Regions from separate parts of the Homo sapiens genome. Here all the other regions are linked to region 3. The links are contacts of gene promoters, found by promoter capture Hi-C in human tissues and cell types (Jung and others, 2019). All regions are on one chromosome and are shown on one strand. The core of a region is centred on a gene start or on the middle of the fragment in contact, and the rest is flanking DNA. Distances in the headings are between cores, read along the strand shown. Region 1 holds the start of SNAPC4 (small nuclear RNA activating complex polypeptide 4). Region 2 overlaps SEC16A (SEC16 homolog A, endoplasmic reticulum export factor). Region 3 holds the start of LCNL1 (lipocalin like 1).

Evidence for each region. The method cuts DNA at HindIII sites, captures the fragments that hold promoters and counts their contacts. A contact is called where the count stands out against the background at its distance.
Region 1: a contact is called between the fragment with the promoter of SNAPC4 here and the fragment with the promoter of LCNL1 in region 3, in 2 of the 25 tissues and cell types used here (dorsolateral prefrontal cortex and spleen).
Region 2: a contact is called between a fragment that was not itself captured here and the fragment with the promoter of LCNL1 in region 3, in 2 of the 25 tissues and cell types used here (dorsolateral prefrontal cortex and spleen).

Annotation. Positions count from the first base shown.
Region 1 is chr9:136,398,752-136,402,162 of GRCh38, reverse strand. It overlaps SNAPC4 (small nuclear RNA activating complex polypeptide 4), which reads left to right and starts at 1,993. Exons shown (of 24, transcript NM_003086.4): 1 at 1,993-2,029. It overlaps ENTR1 (endosome associated trafficking regulator 1), which reads left to right. Exons shown (of 10, transcript NM_001039707.2): 10 at 1-241. RefSeq lists silencers at 1,546-1,595, 1,746-1,955, 2,026-2,155, 2,226-2,335 and an enhancer at 844-1,780. The HindIII fragment of the contact is 18,374 bases long and covers 1-3,411 here.
Region 2 is chr9:136,441,991-136,445,869 of GRCh38, reverse strand. SEC16A (SEC16 homolog A, endoplasmic reticulum export factor) reads left to right here. Exons shown (of 32, transcript NM_014866.2): 29 at 151-225; 30 at 759-818; 31 at 1,970-2,047. Among named protein-coding and RNA genes, the nearest start is that of INPP5E, 4.1 kb to the right of the region's middle. The HindIII fragment of the contact is 6,254 bases long and covers 1-3,879 here.
Region 3 is chr9:136,980,897-136,984,887 of GRCh38, reverse strand. It overlaps LCNL1 (lipocalin like 1), which reads right to left and starts at 1,895. Exons shown (of 3, transcript NM_207510.4): 1 at 1,180-1,895; 2 at 325-398; 3 at 1-175. The coding sequence starts at 1,301. PTGDS (prostaglandin D2 synthase) reads right to left here. Exons shown (of 7, transcript NM_000954.6): 7 at 3,146-3,309. RefSeq lists an enhancer at 1-557. The HindIII fragment of the contact is 9,863 bases long and covers 1-3,889 here.

The sequences.
Region 1 (3,411 bases), core at 744-3,243, 580 kb after region 3:
GGGGGTTCTGGTGGACGTTTCAAGTGGCATTTTGTACAATGCAGGTTAGAATTCAGGAATTTCAAGTATGTGCCCGGGTCTGTCAGGTCCCAGTTGCCTTTCTGACGGCCCCCCTCAGAGGGACGGCGATGAGCACTAAATGCTTTTTTGACTATTTTCCTATAGATTTTTTTTAAAACTTTTTTTTCCTCCTGTTCCAATTGATAGCTTTCTTATTTAATAAATTCTGTAGTTCACCGCACTGTCTCTTCTCTGCTGACTTAGCCAGTCCTTGGAGAACGCCGTGGGCTTCCACACCTCACTTGCTCTTGCCCTAACTGGTGCCTTGTGCTGGCAGATTCTCTCCAGGTCCTCAGCCCTTGGGGTTAGGGGCAGACTCAGACCACTGCTGCCTGGGCCTGACCACTGGGACCCACACGTGATGGACGTGTGAGTCACGCAGCTGCACGTTTCAGAGCTGGACAGACTGGATTCTAGCATTGGATCATCTTTTCGGATCATGTGGTTGAATTTTTCAAACAAGGCGTCTGAATTGCTAGACCCCTAGCCTTAGCTACAGGTGAAGGCCAGAGCTTTCCAGCAGTCACTGTGGAGCGGTCCTGCTGCGTAGCCCTATGCGCCTCCTGCTCCTGCTGGTTGGTGAAAGCAGGCTCTGGATTCTGTTGGCAGAGCTGACTTGAGACAGGGTGCTGTGGTTGGGAAGTGCCGGAATGAGGTTCTGAGTGTATAGGCAGCTCTGGGAGCCCTGTAGCAGCAGGATGGGGGCATCTGGGGAGGATGCCTCAGGCCACAGGCCTTCCCTGAGGCCCTTTGGGAGAGACAGCATTTGATGGGGTGGGGGTCACAAAGGCCAGATCGCCAGGCGGGTCCCATCCACCAGATGCGTGTGAAGTGGGGTGGTCCCCTGGCCCTCATGCCAGCAGCTCATGGAGCAGGTGGGGCCCAGGGAAGCGCGGTGGGGATGGGCATGTGGGTTTTGCGCACCCCTCTCTTTTGATGTCTGTGTTTGAAGCGTTTGATAGTAAGAAGTTTAAAAATACAATTTGTGGCGCGGTATTTAGTGCCTGCCTTCTGCCTCCAGATTTCAAGCCCGATGCAGGGACTGAAACGAGGCGCTCGAGGAGCCCCCAGCCGCCTGGTTCCATCCCCTCCATCTGTTTCTTGCCAATCCCTAGCTCCCAGTTTGGCCTCACCTGGGCCTAGCCCTTTGCCACCAAAAGCCCACCTCCTAGGTAGGCAGGGCAAACCCTCTTTATAGTTCTCCAGCTGATGCCCCTAGCTCACCCCAGGCTGGAGTGGAGGCCCCCTCAACTGGCTGGGCCCAGGATGTCTTTGCAGCACCGATACTTAGAAGCTCTCAGGAGCCAGGAACTGTAGGCCCCTGCCCAGCTCCCGGCCGAGTTAGCCCTGGCACGTTCCTGAAGGAATGAATGCCCACTTAGGGGAGGGCCCCGGGGCAGCTCTCCAGGCCAGGAGACCCCAGAGGGTGTGCACAGGTGACCAGGGAAGCGAGTTTGTGTGGTGCGGGCCCCCACCCTCTGGCCTCAGTCTCCTGCACGTGCCTGGAGATCGGCCTGGCCTCGGCGATCCTGAGCATGCAGGGCAGGCTGGGGAAAAAGCCTTTCACGTAGACTTTCTCATCCGTTGCTTAACCAAACCCCAACATGTCCGTTAACAGAGGATGAAACAAGCACAGAGAGGTCCAGCGATGGCCGAAGGTCACAGCCAGTAAGGGCCGGTCTTCCGGATCGTGACCAGGTGGCCGGGTGCCTGTCCCTGTCTGTCCCCTGCCTTGAGGTCCCGCGTCCACCCGCGCCCCTCCAGAGCGCGCGGAGGCGGCCCCCAGGGCGGCCGCGCGAGGGCAGCATCGAGCCGTTCGCCTCTCTAGTCCCGGCAGGCCGCAGCGGCCGTCCCGGCGTGCCCCGCGCCTCAGGAGGCGGGACTTCCGGCGCGCGGCGCTCTTGTTCTGCAGCCGCCGGAAGCGTCGAGTCTGCAGTCGCCCGGGCGACGGCGGGGTCCGCGCGGCCAGGTAAGGTGTGCGCCCAGCAGGTGAGGCGCGGGTGGCGTCGGCAGCTTCAGGGCTCTCCCCGTGGAGGGGGCGCTGTCCCGAGGAGCGGATAGCCGAGGCCCGGGACGGGGGCGGGGCAGCGCCCAAAGTCGGGGAAACTGAGGCCCGGCGTGGCCCCCGTCCGGCCGAGCCTGGGCGCGCGGGGATTCTGGCCCTGGGAGCCCCTCGGCTGGGAGCGGGCTGCGGGCTCCGAGGAGGCTCCGGCGGGGCGGCCCCGGCTGCAGGGCGCCCGCGTGCGTCTCGGGGACTGCGCCGGCGATTCCGCGGTGGCCGAGCCTCGGAGGGGGTTTCCCCAGTTCACGCAGCGAGCAGGAGGCGGAACTGGGCCTGGGCCGGGTCTGTCTCCCAAGCCAGTGCCTAAACGCCCATCGTCCTGGCGCATCCTGGGGTTCCCTGGGCCCAGCCGAGTCTGGGTGGCGTCCCCGCAGCTGGGGCTGGAGGGACCGCCTGCTGCGCTCCGTCTTGGTGGGCAGCCCTCATGACCAGCCCTTGGGAGAGGGGTGCGGGGAGAGGGACAGCCCCTGATGTCAGTGGCTCAGCACGTGTGACTTTGACCTCCTTCCTGCTGATCATTGCTCACCTGAGCGACACGGGGAGGGGGAGGCAGCAGCCTCGTGTGAGGCTTCCAGAGGAAAGCGTCTCCGCCGGCCCGGAGGCGCTGAACCAGCCTGCGGTCGCTGCCAGCTCTGCCTCTGGCCGGCTGTTAACTGAGTTTACAGGTTCACAAGCATTTCGGGCATAAACAAGGGGCTTTGTGAAGGAGTGAGGGGACCTGGGCTGCTGATGCGGCTAACGGTGCTCGCGGGTGGATGCTTTGGTTTTGTTCCAGTTGGGCAGGGCCCCAGTCAGCCTCCAGCAGGGAGAGCCACGCCAAGGACGGGGGAGGGCGTTTCTCTTTGTTGTTGGGTGTTTTGGGCTCCCGGGTCTGTGCTAGTGATTCCTTTAGATTTTCTCTGCTAATGTTTCATTCTCCCACTCTCTCTCTAGCGTCCTTCTCCCTTCAGACTTCCTGGACCACAGTTCCTAAGAAAAAAGCTTGACAAACATTTGTTAGTGTCAGGCACTGCCACGTTCCAGGCGTTGTTCTGGATGTACAGAGAACAGCCAGCCTTCCCTTTGGGAGCTTCCTTCCCAACCATGCTGTTAGTGCCTGCCACCTGGGCAGTCTCAGTGTGTGTCTCTGTGAACGTTTCTCAAATGCCCTCTGTGGTCCGGCTCTGTGTCATGGGAGAGCAGGATGGCCAAAGTGGGTCACGGGCTGTGTCCTTGCCCTGTAGTGACTTTGCCACTGCACCCCACACCTTCTACGCTGGGTGGCCAGTTTCCATGTGGCTTGGTGTGGG
Region 2 (3,879 bases), core at 1,091-3,590, 540 kb after region 3:
TGAGGCACTTTTCACTTCTCTCTGAGGAGCACTTTACGTGGAAGAGGGCGTTTGTAACCCAGGCCAGAACAGTTTCATATTTTTTGGCCTGGTGTGAGAGACTTAAATTCCCTGGGATTTGGTTGCTGCAATTCTTCTTTTCCTCGGCAGGTTTTAAGCTCTGCAGCGTCACTCCCTGGCTCTGAACTCCCCTCCTCCAGGCCTGAGGGTTCCCAGGGAGGAGAGGTAAGGAGTGCCGACGCCAGGGCCCCCCGCAGCCCAGGCCTCCCCAGCAGCTCACTGTCCAGGCGCCTCTTCCTTTATGGAGGGGCGGTACTGGGTAGGAAGAGGCAGTTTAGAAACAAGAGCACCTCGAAGGTGGTGTTCCTGGGGGAAAAAAAATTGCACTTGTTTTAACAAAACTGTTTGGGAGCTCCAGGAGGGGTGCAGGGGGTTTGAGTTGTCGCCTCAGTCCCGGTCCTCTCCCTTCAACAGCACGGGAATTGTCTTGAATTGTGAGGTGTCAGGAGGTGAAGCTGGCTTAGGCCGAGGCTGGACTTTTCCTCCCAGCCCTCCCCTAAGCTAATGGTTGTTTCGGGATAACAGCTTTACATTAAGACAGGAATCTTAAGCTAACACTGGCTTTTTTTTCCCTTTTGAGTTATGTTGATTCTAATGGCATCACAAAGCTTTTGAAATGGAACTGACAGCTTGGATTGGACAGTGACGTGCATGTTGACTTTCGTCCGTGTTTTATGTGTGTTCTTGCTGTTTTGTAGCTTTCGCGCTGTAGTTCAATGAGTTCATTATCACGTGAAGTGAGCCAGCATTTTAATCAGGTACCTGCGGCTGGTGGTCCTCACTAACATGAGAGCTGGCGTGTGCCGCCTGTGTTCCTGAGCACGCGGTGCCGGTTCGCCACGTGCGCTTTGCCACTAACCTCGCCCGTTGTCTCCCTCAGCGTCACGTGACCAAGGGTACAGGGTTCCTTTTTTTTTTTTTTTTTTTTTTGAGACGGAGTTTCGCTCTTGTTGCCCAGGCTGGAATGCAATGGTGTGATCTCAGCTCACCGCCACCTCCACCTCCTGGGTTCAAGCCATCCTCCTGTCTCGGCCTTCCTGAGTAGCTGGGATTACAGGCATGAGCCACCACGCCCAGCTAATTTTGTATTTTTAGTAGAGACGGGGTTTCTCCATGTTGGTCAGGCTGGTCCCAACCTCAGGTGATCCGCCCGCCTCAGCCTCCCAAAGTGCTGAGATTACAGCAGTGTTCCTTTAAATGGCCTTAAAGGGGGTTTTGCTGTTCAGTCTCCACATACATGGGGCAACTGGATCGACCCTGAGGTGTCCTAGTCAATGAGTGGGTTCTGTCATTTTGCTCTTTCCAAATTGGTTTTTCCAATGACGGGCCTGGGTCGTGGCCTCGCCGAGTGAGTGTTTCCCCGGTCAGGATGCTCTCCTTTGGAAGGAAGATTGCTCCTTTCTGATCAAGCATGAGAACGTTGGTTTGAGGCCGGGGCGGGTGCAGCAGTGACCTGCGGCCAATGTGGGAGGGAGGTGAACGAACGCTTCATCTTCTGCCTGTCCAGGCACCAGCTGCAGCCGTGGCTCAGCAGAAAGGCTTGCAGCGACCCTTCCGCCTGCAAATGAGAGCCCTGGGCCTCGTGTCATGGCTGGAGCCTTAGAGCTGCAGCCGTGGGCACCTCCTCACCACCTCGCACGCTCGGTGCCACCTCAGTGCTGTGTGCACCTTCCCATTGCATGTTCCGGTGCTTAAAACATTGGCTCTGCACGTTGCTTTGATTTTCACCATTTTTCTCTGAACCATTAAATAACTAAATCCAGTGTTGCAAGAAGTGTCTTGGATCTGCTTCTGTAGCTTATGTAAAAGTACTGTAAATCCCACCCAGAAGCGGTGTCTGTATCTGCACTTGAAGTGACAGCTGCTGTGCAGCGCAGCCCTGCTGAGGTGACTTCTCTGTGCTTCTCAGGCTCCTGGCGACCTCCCTGCTGCAGGGGGCCCTCCCAGCGGGGCCATGCCCTTCTACAACCCTGCTCAGCTGGCACAGGTGAGTGACTCCTACCTTTCCCTACGAGACCCTAACACGCCCACTGACGACCTGACCCTGCTGCTCAGTGATGGCAGCTTTCTGCCCTAGATCCTCTTTTTCTTTCTTTTTAAAAAATATATTTATTTATTTATTGAGACAGGGTCTTGCTCTGTTGCCCAGGCTGGAGTGCAGTGGTGCGATCTCTGATCTCAGCTCACTGCAGCCATAACTTCCTGGGCTGAAGCAATCCTCCTGCCTCAGCCTCCTGAGTAGCTGGGACTACAGGCATGGTCAGCACACCTGGCAAATTTTTTATGTTTTGTAGAGACGGTCTCACCTTGTTGCCTAGGCTGGTCTTGAACTACTAGGCTCAAGCGATCTTCCCACCTCGGCTTCCCAAGGCACTGGGATTACAGGCTTGAGCCACCGTGCCCAGCTTCTCTTTTCTGAATGAAAGTTGCACACCTACTGGGTGGCAGTCCACAGGGCACTGTGAGGAGCCAGGCTGGGCCCTCCCCGGCTGCCATTTCTCCCTTTGTGTGGACACCAGGCCCACCGTGCTCAGCTCTGCGTGGACACCAGGCCCGCCGTGCTCCCGTGTGGAGCTCTGTCGACACGAGGCCCTCCGTGCTCCTGTATTCGCTTTGCCTTTTCCTAGGTTGTAGTTTGTAAAATGTGCTTGGCTTTCTACTTGTGTATCCCTCATTCAGCCCCCAGCTCTGCCACGTCTGCTATTCTGTTCTCCTGGAGCCCGTGGTCTCTGAGCCGAGCGTGATCTCTCCTCCCTTGGCCCGGGCACCCGGGTCTCCCCGGAGTGGGTCCCCCAGCTTTGGAATCCTATGTTGCTGCCTTTCTTAGTTACTCTGTTTGTCTTGGTGACACACATCCTCTGGTAGCTCTTGCTTTTTTTGTATGTTTTTTATTTCTTTTTCCTAATAGCTTCTTGACAGAAAGGTCCCAGGGTGACTTGGGAGATGCCTTTCACGTCTGGAGCTGCCTTTCTCCTCCGGCCTATCTGGCTGGCTGGTAGAATTCTTGGGCCAAAGTCACTTTCTTCAGAACTGCAAGTGGCCTTAGGTTTCCTGCTGCCTGTGGTTGCTGAGACCCCAGGGCCGTTCTGCCTGCAGCCCCTTTCAGGGTCCGTTTCCCTGGGACCTGGAGGGCTTCACCCTCAGCCCCCTTGGGCCTGACTGCATGCCCTTCAGCTGGGGAGTGTTCTAGAATGTTTCCTGTGGTTTCCCTCCCTCAGCCTCGTCTCTCCTCCCCTCTCCCTTGCCTGTGGAGTATAGACTGGCTGCCAGTGTAGGGGAGCTGAGCGGGGTCCAAGGTCTGGGGCCTCTTGGGATTCAGCCCCATTGTCACCCCAGCCTGCCCTCACAGCCTCACACACTCTTGACTGCAGGCTTCCTGGGCTGGGGCCCAGCACTCCTGCCCTGGTCCTCTACAAACGAGGCCGAGGCTCCCAGGACCACTGCCCCCAAGCTGGCCCCTGGCTGTCACCTGCTTTTCAGCATCCAGACTAGTCGATTTTGGTATTGTCCTGCTCCCTTTACCATGTGGTTAGTGCCTTTACAAAAATTCCTTGGCTTTCCCCTCCATGAGGCTTTGCGAGGGAGCAAGAGTGGATGCCTGCATTGGCCAGCTGTCTGCAACTGAGGTCCCCGCGTCCCATGCAGTAGGCCAGGCCTGGCCACCACTTGTCCCTGGACTCTGGACAGCCAGGCTGGCTCTGCAGAGCAGCTCCAGGTCTCATGGCCCTGATGAAACCACGGCACCTCCTGGCCACCCTCACAGTAAACATTGATGGTTAAGGATACAGTGCTTTCAAGGGAGCCCAGGACTTGGCACTG
Region 3 (3,991 bases), core at 646-3,145:
CACAGGGGTGACATCCCAGACCCGAAGCGGGGGTGTCTGGGTCTCCGCCCCGCAGCCCGCCCACCGTAGAGCTGCAGCCACTGGTTCCGCAGGCCCCCTTTCCGCATCTCCAAGTACAGCAAGGCAAAGTGCTGGTAGTCGGAGAAGGCCACTCGGATGTCACTCAGGGCCATGGCTGGAGGAGCGAGAGCCGCTGACCCCAGGCCCAGGGCACCTCCCCCCCGAGCGTGGCACCCCTCACGCCCCGGCCCCAGGTGCCAATCCAGCAGTCCATGCAGCCTCCAGGGCCCCCACGCCACAGCCCTGCCTGCTGCCCCACCTCACCTGGGTTGCTGAACTGCCCCGGTACAGCACCCTCGGTGAAGGTCGTGTCCATTTTCTGGCACCCGCCATGGGGCCTGGGGAGAAAGAGCCCCAATCCCCTGAGTGGCCACCCCTGCCCAGCGCCCAGGCCTAGAGCCTACCTTGCTGTCTCTGAGCCCAGGGTCCCCTGTTCACCCTCACAATCCTTAGAGGACATGGGACTTTAGGATGACCTTAGAGGTGGGGACACTCCTGCTGGGGGTGGGGTGGGTATTAAGTACCTGTTCACAGGCACACAGCCTAGAATGCAGGGCCTCCAGGTCCCCCTTCCAGACACAGACACACAGAAGACACACACATACACACATGCACACACACGGAGATAGACACAGACACAGACACACTGACAGACACACACATAGACACGCACACAAGACACACACAGAGATAGACACACACAGCCAGACACAGATACACAGACACACAGACACACAGACGCATACAGTGATACACACATACACACTCAGAGGTACACATCTACAAAGACACACATGCATACACACGCACACACAGACACACACACATGCAGAAATAGACACACATACACAGAGACACAGCCACATACAGTGATACACACACAGACACAGACATGCAGACACTTTTCTCAACACCAGGCCTCAGGCAGTGCTTCCTCCAGGGCCTGGGTCCCTCTGGACTCCGTGTGGCTGCCATCTGGGGCTCTGCCGCACAGAGCCGTCGAGGACCCGTGGTCTGACCTCAATGTGCTGGGGACACCATGGTCCCTCTGGACCTTCATGTGGCCTCATGCTGGCCATCCTCTGAGGCTGAGTCTGATGGGCTCGTGTGGTCACTTACGTGGGGTATCCAAACTTGAGGGCCAGGTCACCATTCCCCAAGGGGGTCACTAAGACCACAGCCATCTTCATGGTGTCCTTGGAGTCCAGGAAGTCCTGGTCATCTGACACCACCCCGACCATGTACCAGGTGCCCTGGAACTGCAGGGCAAGTGCAGGGAAGGCTGGGAGGCCGCCCCTGTGCCCTGGGCCTGAGCCCACCACATTCTGCCCCGACACAGCTGCTTCCTGGCCACGGCAGGGGCTGCTGTACACATCTCGACCCCGATGCAGAACTGAGGGAGGGGGGCCTCAGTACATGAGCAACTGGCCCCCACCAGCCCAGCACCGGCCTGTCTGCAGCTGGCACCCAGGGGGTACGGCTGGATGGGTGGGGCTGTGGCAAGGTCACAGGTCTTTGTGGGGTGGGTGGGGGACAGTGAGGCACAGGCAACCAACTTGTCCCTATTTTGGGCCCTGGGGATTGTTGGGGGATGCAACTGAAAAGGTAGGATGGAGGCTGCAGTCTTCCCCAGCCAACCCCTACTCCAGTCAGACGGAGCGGGTGAGGTGGGGGTTTCCCCTGCCCCTAGCCCTGCTGAGCCTGGATCAAAGAGGGTGTGGACAGGGACCCGGGGTGCAGCACCAAAGCCGGGAGGACTCATTGGAGATGAGGAGGAAACAGGGCTGGGCACACCTGGCTGGCATCAAAGTTGGCCTGGATGGGGACCTGGGCCTGGCCTGGGGATGCCCAGAGCAGGGCAAGGAGGGAACTGATCAGCAGAGCCCGAAGCATCATGCAGCAAGATGGCATCTCCTCCGGACACGGGAGCAGGGCAGAGCTGAGGTGGCTCCTCTGTAGGCTTTACGCCCCTGAGGTGCCCTGGGGCGGCTGGCCTGGGACTGCACCCACTGTGACAGGCTTCTGATCAAGTTGCACCCTGCAGCGCTCTGGCCTGGCTCCCTCCACCCAACCCCAGCCATCCGTTGCCTTTCCTCCGGGGTGGGGCCGGATGCCTGGCAGCTGAGGGTAGTTCTGACGGGCCTCTGGGCTAGGGGGCCTGCAGCTCACCCATCCTGCCTCTTCGGCCTTCTGCAGCCCCTCTGGGATGTTGGAATCCCCCCTACCTTGAGCTCAGGCACAGCCCTAAGCCCCCTTCTCCGGGAAGGCCACCCAGAAGCTCACCCTCACCTCCGAGCCTCAAAATGCTTGGTGCCTCTGCAGGGTCTGCCTCGGGGGGGCCTGGTGGGCAGGTCACAGTGAGTCCTGCACATTGTGTACCTGAGAATGGCTGCCTGGGTGGGAATCTGGAAGGGAGCAGGGTTGGGCAGGGCACTGGCCGGGCATGGTGTGGCCGTGGTGCCAGGGCTCTGGTGAGTGGACAAGGCTGTGATCTGGAGGCCCAGGTCAGAGGGCAGGGGGCGCACAGGGAGCCAGAAGGGATATGGGGTAGCCTGTCCCCAGCCCACTCTGTCAGTCTGTCCTGATGCGGGGTGGAGACACTCTGGCATGTTTCAAACAAATGTTTCTTTTTGTCCCCTGAAACCCTTATCTCTGCCCAATCTCAGTGCGTTAATCCCACACCTCAAGATACCCAACAGGTCCAAAGCTCCTCTGGGGCCTCGAGCCTCAGGCCTTTACTGCTGAGGGGGTGACAGGGTGGCGTTGGGGGTGCAGGGCACCTGCCTAAGGGATTAGCTGAGTCACTGACCCCCAGCTCAGCACCGGCCTGGTGGCAGTGGCAGCTGAGGGGGTATGGCTCGACGTGTGGGGCTGTGGGGCAGGGGCACACGACTGTGTGGGGTGGGTGGGAGACAGTGAGGGACACCCCCTCCTAGCTGTCCTGACTCAAGACCCCACTGGGAGCAAACACTAGAGGGCCTGTTCCTTTGTTGACGTCAGGCTGAGATTTTAGAGGGGGAGGTCCGGGTGGCCAGGGCCAGGCCCAGGACGGGTGATGACAGCGCAGACAGCCAGGAGCCAGCTCTACTGACTTGCTTCCGGAGTTTATTGTGCAGGATGAAGCCTGAGTGGGCAGGGTTGCTTTGGCGGGGAGCCGGGGCAGGGGCTCGGGGAAGGAACAGAGCAGAGACATCCAGAGCGTGGGGGTCACCTGGCTGGCCGGGATCCCAGCTTCAGCCCTGGGGAGTCCTGAGGGGTGTGACCGAAAGGCTAGGATGGAGGACTGCAGTCTACCCCAGCCCACCTCCACTCCAGTCGATGGAGCAGGTGCGGGCTACGGGGACTTTTCTCTGCCCCCAGCCCCACTGAGCCCCGCTGAGAGAGCAAGATCCATCCCTGGGGCTTGGATCCCCGCTGCCCCAGGGTCTACAGACTCCACCCTTCCCAGCCCCAGGGTCCACAGACTCCAGCTCCAGCCTAGGCCTCCCTCCTGGGGGTGGTGGGTGAATCCGCCCTGAGCCTGCTCTCCGAGCTGTCCCACGGCATCCATGTAGCGTCCTTGGCCCTCCCCTTCCATCCCCTGTTCCCTCCCATCCTGTCTCCCCCACCCTGGTTTCCTCCTAGCCCAGGAGCCAGACACCCTTGCTGCCAGGTGGTCCCTGTGGTATAGCCCCTTGGCCTTGTCTGCCTGGGGCCTCGCACCTGCACCCCCCAACCATGAGCCTTCAGGAGTCAGCCCTGTTCCAGCCACTGGGACAGGTTTTCCTTCTGAGCCTCACACCTGTGCACCCATCAATGTGGGCAGCCCCAGTGTCTCCCGCCCGGCCCTGGACTGCAGCCATCGGGAAGGATGGGTCTGCAGCACCAGGCTGTCCTGGGGCCCTGATCCATCCCATCGCAGAGTGGGTTGGGTGGATGTGTGTTGAATGAA